3 separate regions of the Homo sapiens genome follow, and regions 2 and 3 are each linked to region 1. The links are contacts of gene promoters, found by promoter capture Hi-C in human tissues and cell types (Jung and others, 2019). All regions are on one chromosome and are shown on one strand. The core of a region is centred on a gene start or on the middle of the fragment in contact, and the rest is flanking DNA. Distances in the headings are between cores, read along the strand shown.

Region 1 (2,741 bases), core at 76-2,575:
GCGATTCTCTCCTGCCTCAGCCTCCCTAGTAGCTGGGACTACAGGCGTGTGCCACCACGCCCAGCTAAATTTTGTATTTTTAGTAGAGACGGCGTTTCACCATGTTGGCCAGGCTTGTCTCGAACTTCTGGTCTCAAGCGATCCGCCCACCTGGGCCTCCCAAAGTGTTGGGATTACAGGCATGAACCATCACGCCTGGCCCAGGAAATGATTCTTAACTTTTGCAGGGTCTAGGATCTCTTTAGCTATTTGATAAAACCAGTGGACTCCCTTTCTCAAAAACATGAATATGCATTAAAAACTCTGCTTACATCTAGTCTATCTGGTAAATATAATTAAAAGAAAAAAGAAAAAACTCTGTTTACAGCTTGGGGGTTTAGAGACTCTCAACGCCCTAGATTTAAGAAAAGTCAAGGGGAGGAGAGATTGGAGAACGAACTTTCTACACCACAACTTCTTAGGAGAGACTTCTTAAAAGGGGGTCGTGCTGCCGGGCGCAGTGGCTCATGCCTGTAATCCCAGCACTTTGGGAGGCCGAGGCGGGTGGATCACCCTGAACGCAGGAGGCGGAGGTTGCAGGGAGCCGAGATCGCCCCACTGCACTCCAGACGGGGCGACAGAGCGACACTCCGTCTCTAAATAAATAAATAAATAAATAAATAAATAAATAAATAAATAAATAAATGGGGGCCTGCTTAAAATGATCTTTGCCCTTAGACTGCAGAGCTTACTTTTTAAAAAGTGAAATGGGGGCAGAAGGGGATAAGAAAACGCTTCTAGTTCTTTCTCTTCCAACTGCTCCCTCCCTAGGAGGCTTAGGATAAGGCAGCCCCCGGCACTTTCTGCGAGTGTATCGGAAGTATCTTTGCCAGGTTTGATAAACGTTTGCGGAAGGAATACAGGACACACTCGCGCGGCAGAATCGCGAAAAGTCCCCGGTGTTCTCCGCGCAGGGAGTTCCCCGCGCAGGGAGTTCCTAGCGGGCCACGCGCTCTCGCCTGACCACCCGCGCCGAGCTGCGGGCTGTCGGGGTACAGACGCCCGCGCGCGCAGGTGCATTCGCTCCAGGTGCGGCCGGCTCGGGGCGGGAACAGCTGCAGCCGAGGCGGGGGCGGGGAGGGGGTACAGAGGAGAGGCAGAAAGGAGGGAAGAGGAGGAGGAGGAGGAGAAGGGAGGAGAAAGGGGAAAGGAAGAAAGAAGGAGAGCAGGAGGGCGAGGAGCGGGGGGAGCGGGGAGGAGGGCGCGGGGAGGAGGCAGCGGGGAGGAGCGTGCAGGGAGGAGGCAGCCGCGCTGGGAGGAGTCTGCACACTTTCAGTGCCAGGGCATTGTGGGAAGCAGCCATGGTCTAAGCCGGGCGCCTCACCTGTCAGCCGCACCGGCTCCAGCGCTCGCCTCTCGCCCTCGCTTCTCCAGCGCTCCTTGCTCGCAAGGCGGGGGAGGCGGCGGCCCAGCCACGATGGTGAGTGCGGGGGAACCGCCGGCCCGGGTAGGCGGTGGGGGCGCTCGCGCTCCGGGGAGGCACCTGGGGCGTCCGGGCCGGGCGCGCGGCCGGGTGGGGGTGCGGGCCGAGTCCCGCCTGGCCACCCGAACCGTGCGTCCCTGTGGCCCCGCTGCCCCAGACGGTGCGGACGCGCCAGGATCGCTTGCCCGGGATTCCTGCGGCAACGCGGCGCCGCGGCGCCGCGGCTCCATTCATTCATTCGATCCGCCTTAGCCGAGTGCTTAGTCTGTGCCGGGCTCGGTGCTGGGCGCTGGGGATGTCGCGGGGGACCAGGAGGAGCCCCTGTTCTCCAGGAAGCTTACCTTCCAGGAGGGGGATGCGGAGGGAGGGACACGTCCAATATACAAGTAAAATGAAGAGAACTTCTAAAGTAAGAAGCGCTGTAAAGTCTCAAATACAACCGGGTGGAGTGGCAACTTTTGATTTGGCAAAGCCTCTTCAAGGACATGACATTCTAGCTGCTGGAGGTCCTGGAGGGGCGCTACAGGTGGATTAGAGAGAGCAAAGCGGAGGGGAGAAGGCCTTGTTTGTGGCAGGAGAGGTGGGCTTCTGCCAGGTGAGGCGGGTTTTTATAGGCCAAAATAAGGAGTTTGGTTTTGGTTCCAACTGAGTAGGGGAAACCTCGGGGACGTTTTAGCAAGAAAACTGACCTTACCCGTTGTGCACTTTTGTTTTTTTGAGACTGATCTCGCTCTGTCGCCCAGGCTGAAGTGCAGTGGTGTGGTCTCGGCTCTGCCTCCCGGGTTCAAGCGATTCTCCTGCCTCAGCCTCCCGAGTAACGGGGATTACAGGCGTGTGCCACCACACCCAGCTAATTTTTGTATTTTTAGTAGAGACGGGGTTTCACCATGTTGGCCAGGCTGGTCTCGAACTCCTGACCTCAGGTGATCCGCCTGCCTCGGCCTCCCAAAGTGTAGGGATTACAGGGGTGAGCCACTGCACCCGGCATGGTGTGCAGTTTGGCTGTGGTTGGAGAATGGACTGGGGTGTGTAAGGGCAGGGGATAGGGGGTCAGGTTGGAAGCTGAGGCCGGCCGCAGCCCTGCTGATGAGAGATCTGGTGACCTGCACTTGGGTGGAAGCGATAGCTCAGGCTCCTCTTGCTCTTGCCTGCTGTTTAGGGGCAGCCTTTTAAGAGTGTGGTGGTCTGAACGTCACTAGTCCCACTTCCCCAAGTGTGTTACCACTTCCCAAATCCGCAGAAGGGAAGTGACCTGCACCCTGTGGGCCCACCGGAGGCA
Region 2 (2,741 bases), core at 143-2,642, 910 kb after region 1:
TTTTTTTTTAAATTAGTTATTGTCATTCTTAAAAAATCAGGAAATTTTAGATGTAAGTGTGGAATCGCCAGCAACAATGGGCCCACATTTCAGGTACAGCAGAACTGACGGCCTCTGTTAGAGAGGGCATGCCTGCTCCTGTTCCCTCAGAATCAATCCTTACCCATCACATTGTCTTACATTAGGGCCCACTTGACTCATTTAAATAGGTAGCTGCCTGGTTCTTGAGTTTGAAATCCCTGTCTTAAAGGATGATGAAAACAATGGTTTACGTCTATTCTACTTTCTTATTAGGCCTCACCGATGTGCAGTATAAAACACCTCTCTAATCTTTTCCCATGTAATGTATCACCATTTCAAAGTGAGATCTCTGCAGGCTTCCATCAGCTTATGCTATCACACCCTATTTAAAATTAATACAGCAATAGCTCAAGAGCCAGGCTGAAGAATAAGACTGGTGGCTTTCAAGGATGTGAGGAAAGAACCCTCCACTATTATGAATTACTATTGCATTATGTTTCCTCTTCAAAGACCAAATATCAGAAATGAAAGGCTGATATTTAACATTTTAAAGACTTTTATTTAAAACATAAACTGTTACTGATTAATCATTCAATTTGAATCTTAAAAATAGAAGAAATTAAGGATCCTCAGAAGAAAGAAATCCCCTATGCATGTATTTAAGATTGCTTATTTCCTACAAAACATGACTTAGAACTAGCTTCCAAAAATATACGAAAACAGAGAACATAACTGAAAAACAGAAAAATGAAGTAATACATGAAAATGGTATACAGAGCCACTCAAAATAAATAGGGAAAAATCAGTCATGAGGTTTTGTATCTATCCGTATATGGCAAATACAAAGTAGGAGAAGCACAGCTGTATCCTGTACCGGAAAGCAAAATAACTTTCTCCCATAAAAGGGACGCATGAGGCCCTATGCGATTCATCTCAGAACTGCTGATTAGTTGGTAGATCTCCTCCTCAAACACAACCACATGATAAACTCTGGTAATAATATTCCCTAGACCAGAACTTAGTTCCTTCTCTAACACTTACAGAAATCCTCATAAACATTTCTGAACCTGAGCCTTAATATACTCACCTACACAAATAAACAAAAGCACCTTAAGTTTTCTACATAAAAAGAAATTTAATCACTGATGTGAGAAAATAAATGTACACAAAACAGTCAGTGTTTGTTACTAAAGTTTCTCTTCCAAAATGCTAAGTGGTTTTTAATATTACCTATCAGTTTGATATAAAAACTTCTCCAGATAAATTATTGACTCCAGATGCATCTAATACATTCTAAAAATTGATATCAATGATCATAGTACTTGGAATCCACCATTATTCTGCCTCACAAACACCTTACTACTCTTCTCCTATATATTTGCAGAAAATATCCCATACCCCAAAAAAACGTCTGGCATCACACTCCAGCCTCTGACCATGGAGAACACTACCTTCGGAAATTGTTCCAGCCCCAGCAGATTCAGTGAGCCCGTATCCCTGACCAACAGGACAGCAGAAACAGATGTTCATGAATCGCTGCGTGGTTGCAGAAAGTGGAGCGCCACCACACAACAGGAGACGAATATTTCCCCCTAGCAAGCTTCGAACTTTCCGGAAAACAAAGCTAAAGAAAAAAATTAGAGAACCACAGGATTTTAAAACTGAATGGGATTTTCCAAATCACTTAAACTAATCCCCCAGTTTTGATATGAGAGATTTTGAGATTAAGTTACTTATCCAAGGTCACACAGCCAATTTGGAGAGTCTCTTGAGCCCCAAATGTTAATTTTTTGAAGTTCAACAAGGTAAAGAATTTATTATTTCCTCTTAAGAGCTTTTCAAGTGATATTCGAATTTGAATTGTCAGGTTTAGTTTTGTATAGTGACAGGAAAACCCTTGCTTATGGCCACTTTTATATCATTATTTACATAAAATATTTATCATATATTAATACTGAACAATTCTATCATCTTTATGAAATGTATTAAAATCAAATTAATTTTTGCTTTAATGTACTTTATTAGAAATGTGTATAATTTGTATACCACAATCTGTTTTTGAAGTTTCACTAATTCAAGCTTTGAATTGTTTGTTAAAAATAATCTAGTAAATTATCTGTGAAGCATTTAAAAAAGGAAACAAGTTAAACATCTAATTGATGTTTCTGAAAATACACTAATACAAAGATTGCATACTGCCTTGATCAAAAAGGAGAGGTAGTACTTAAAAAAAAAAATCTTTGCAAAAGGTGAAGACTACACGGTGACAATTTTTTAAAAATGGTATTAACAGACTTTTCAAATCAGCTTTTACAGTTATCCCTTGGCATCCAGTCCTCTGGATACCAAAACCCTCAGATGCCTAAGTCCCTTATATAAAACGGCATAGTATTTGCATAAAGCCTACACACATCCTCCAAAATACTTTAAATTATCTCTAGATTACTTATAATACCTAATACAATATAAATTCATTGTAAATAGTTGTTATACTGTATTTTCTTTTCCACTGTTATATTTTATTGTTTTTTCCCCAGAATACTTTTGATCCACGGTTGGTTGAATCTAAAGATGTGGAACCTGTTGATACAGAGGGCCGACTTTACAACTCACTGAAGAAATAACTAACGTAAGGCAGGAAAAAAACTTACAAAGTTCTAAATTATGTGAAGCATCTGAAAACTATATTAATATTACCATAAAAAATACTTTGAATGTCA
Region 3 (2,741 bases), core at 129-2,628, 860 kb after region 1:
ATTCCCTCTAGGCATATTGACTCCAGAGCTCCAGCTCTCATCCTCCACACCAATCCCATTGTTCTTGCAGGATACAAAGGTGGGTCACATGGTCACGAGCAGAACCTCTATGCATATCTGCATTCAGATGATCAAGCTGTAGAATGGCTAGCCGAAAAACACAATGCTGAAAGTTCAGGGTTGCAGAAAGTCAGAGGCACACATCAGCTTCAAAGAGAAGGCTGTCAATGGAGACGGGAAGTGGGGAAGGAGTGGGTAGCCTTCTCTCTGCCACACAGAAATGGCTCCAAGGCTATGATGCAAGGTGGCCCCAGCTCTGTGAAAAGGCACTTTCACCTTTAAAGCACTTTGCTGAGAGGGAAAATCAATGCTGATGTCCTCCTTGAATAAAGCACTCAGGTCTACTGGGGAGTCCAAAAATAAAAGCATGACGTTAAGTATTTCTCTACCTGTAGCTACTCCTCACCCTTAAGAGGAGGGGCAAGGTGGAGCTGTTAAGGGAGCAGGTAGAGGGAGAGGCAGGTGGGGGACCGTGGTTGAAGCACTAGAAAAGGGCATCTGGGAAGACTCGCAAATGGGAGTGGGGGAAGGGACAGGCTTCCAGAGGAAGTGGTTTTGGTTGAGGCTGGCTGAGAGCAACAATGAGGCTAGGAACACCGAGGACACCGTGGGAAGGTGAGTGACCCAGAACTCATCACATGTGCTTCTCAAAATCAGAAGACATCTACTGACAGTGACATCTTTTAAATTGGAGCCCTGATAGCATAAACAAGGCTTCAAAAGTCTTTAAAAAGTCTTTATTTTGGTCAGAATAAAACCTGATCCCTTTGCGGGCCATCTTGTCCTGGCTTCAAGACTTTTTCATCCTCCTAGACTTCAAAGCACAGATGTCAGGTTTCCAAGCCAGCAAGTCTACCTTCAATATTAGAAGGAAATGCAAGAGCAAAAAGAGATGAATGACACAATCCAGTAGGTTGCAAATGGAAATGTTTGTGTGAGGCACTAGAGTTGCATCAGCTCTGCCAGGTCATGTGTGAAAAGCAAAGTGATTACACCCAGAGCAAGAGGCTGAAGTGCCCTCCACTGGCCAAACAGATTCCCCAGTAGCCTCAGTGTCACCGCAGAAATGGCTTGAAAGGACAAGAGTTTTTGGAAGTTGCTCCATCTTAAATCCTGGGGTTCAAAGATGTCGATGATGCAACCAATGGAAGAAACTAGCTGATAGTGTTGCTTCCTTTAATCCAAGCTTTTAATTTTATTTAATATGGGAAATTCTCTTTAATCTTACAACAAAGAGATTTACTTTAAGTCTTTAATATCTGAACCACAGAAGCAGAAATAGAAACATGCTATACTCAAGAAATTATCACAGATTTATCTTTTGTCTTAATGTTGTTTCATTTTGTTTGTTTTCATTCTCCATCTTTTTCCAGGCAATTTTTATTGGTAATCTGGTTAGCAAAAGACTAAAGTGACCTAGTTCTGCAGATGAAGCTGAAAGCAGATTCTATTTCTCCAGCGGGGTTTACCTCAATCTGTGAACACAGGCTTAGCAGAAATGAGTGAAAAACAGACAGGGGCTCTCTGGTGCCTCAAGACAGCTTCAGGCACACATGGAAGAAGGGGAGGGTCTTTGGGCAAGAGAAAAAATGGGCACCTCCCTCACCCTTCCAGGCAGAGTCCAGCACAATCTTTGGAGGGCTAGAGGTCGGTTTGAGGTTGTCGCAGAAGCCTTTGAACATTGCAGAAGCCACTTGAGGTATTCCCCCAAGGATGGCAACATCTCACAGGGACCAGCTTCACTGTTCAGGAAGGAACAGCAGCGGCTTCTTACAGGGACACATGCATGTGCAGTGTCTGGAGAGTGGCTCTGCTGGGCCAGGCTGTCCCACAGAGACAGCCAGCAGGATGTTCCTTTTATTTATTTTTTCCAGCTTTATTGAGGTATAACTAACTGACAAAACTCTATCAGTTTAAGATGTACAATATTAGGATTTGATATATGTATATATTGTGAAAAAATGATGACCACAATCAATTTTGTTCATACATCCATCACCTCACCTACTTACCAGTGTGTGTGTGTGTGTGTGTGTGTGTGTGTGTGTGTGTGTGTGTGTGTGTGTGTGGTGTTGAGAAGGAATGAAATCAATAGCTCAAAGAGATAGCTGCACTCCGTTATTCATTGGAGCACTGTTCACAATAACCAAGGTATAACCACCATAAGTGTCCATTGACATGAATACATAAATTGTGAAATACATGTATATGTGTGTTTGTGTGTGTGTATATATATATAATTGTATATTATTTAGCCAAAAAGAAGCAAATCTTGCCATTTGCGACAACTTGGATGAACCTGGAAGACATGATGCCAAGTGAAATAACTCAGACAGGGAAAGACAAAGACGGTATGATCTTGCTTCTATGTGGAATCTAAAAAAGTCAAACTCATAGAAATAGAGTGGAAGAGTGGCCGCCAGAGGCTGGGGATGGGGGAAATGGGGAGAGGTTAGTCAAAGGCTGCTCCTTCTAAAGAGTGAACTGAATGCAGACAAGCTGGCTAAGCAGTTACTGGTTAACCTGTCTGGGCACAAATAACTACAAACTTCTCAAATCAAATCACTGAAAAACAATCACACTATTTTATTACTAACTTGTGCACTATGACAAAATGATATCATCTTGTTTTCAATTTAAGGCCTATAAAATCTTTAGTGATTTGTGGGAGAATTTGGTAC

The links. Contacts are between HindIII fragments. The study calls those that stand out against the background at their distance.
Region 2: a contact is called between a fragment that was not itself captured here and the fragment with the promoter of AP1S3 in region 1, in 1 of the 25 tissues and cell types used here (dorsolateral prefrontal cortex).
Region 3: a fragment that was not itself captured here is called in contact with the fragment with the promoter of AP1S3 in region 1 in 1 of the 25 tissues and cell types used here (IMR-90 fibroblasts).

The regions. Positions count from the first base shown.
Region 1 is chr2:223,836,166-223,838,906 of GRCh38, reverse strand. AP1S3 (adaptor related protein complex 1 subunit sigma 3) reads left to right here and starts at 1,325. Exons shown (of 5, transcript NM_001039569.2): 1 at 1,325-1,459. The coding sequence starts at 1,457. RefSeq lists enhancers at 779-958, 1,829-1,918 and silencers at 1,129-1,258, 1,289-1,718. The HindIII fragment of the contact is 8,969 bases long and covers 1-2,741 here.
Region 2 is chr2:222,925,921-222,928,661 of GRCh38, reverse strand. ACSL3 (acyl-CoA synthetase long chain family member 3) reads right to left here. Exons shown (of 17, transcript NM_004457.5): 12 at 1,473-1,645. Among named protein-coding and RNA genes, the nearest start is that of ACSL3-AS1, 7.7 kb to the right of the region's middle. The HindIII fragment of the contact is 6,092 bases long and covers 1-2,741 here.
Region 3 is chr2:222,980,507-222,983,247 of GRCh38, reverse strand. No RefSeq gene overlaps it. Among named protein-coding and RNA genes, the nearest start is that of ACSL3-AS1, 62 kb to the right of the region's middle. The HindIII fragment of the contact is 3,166 bases long and covers 1-2,741 here.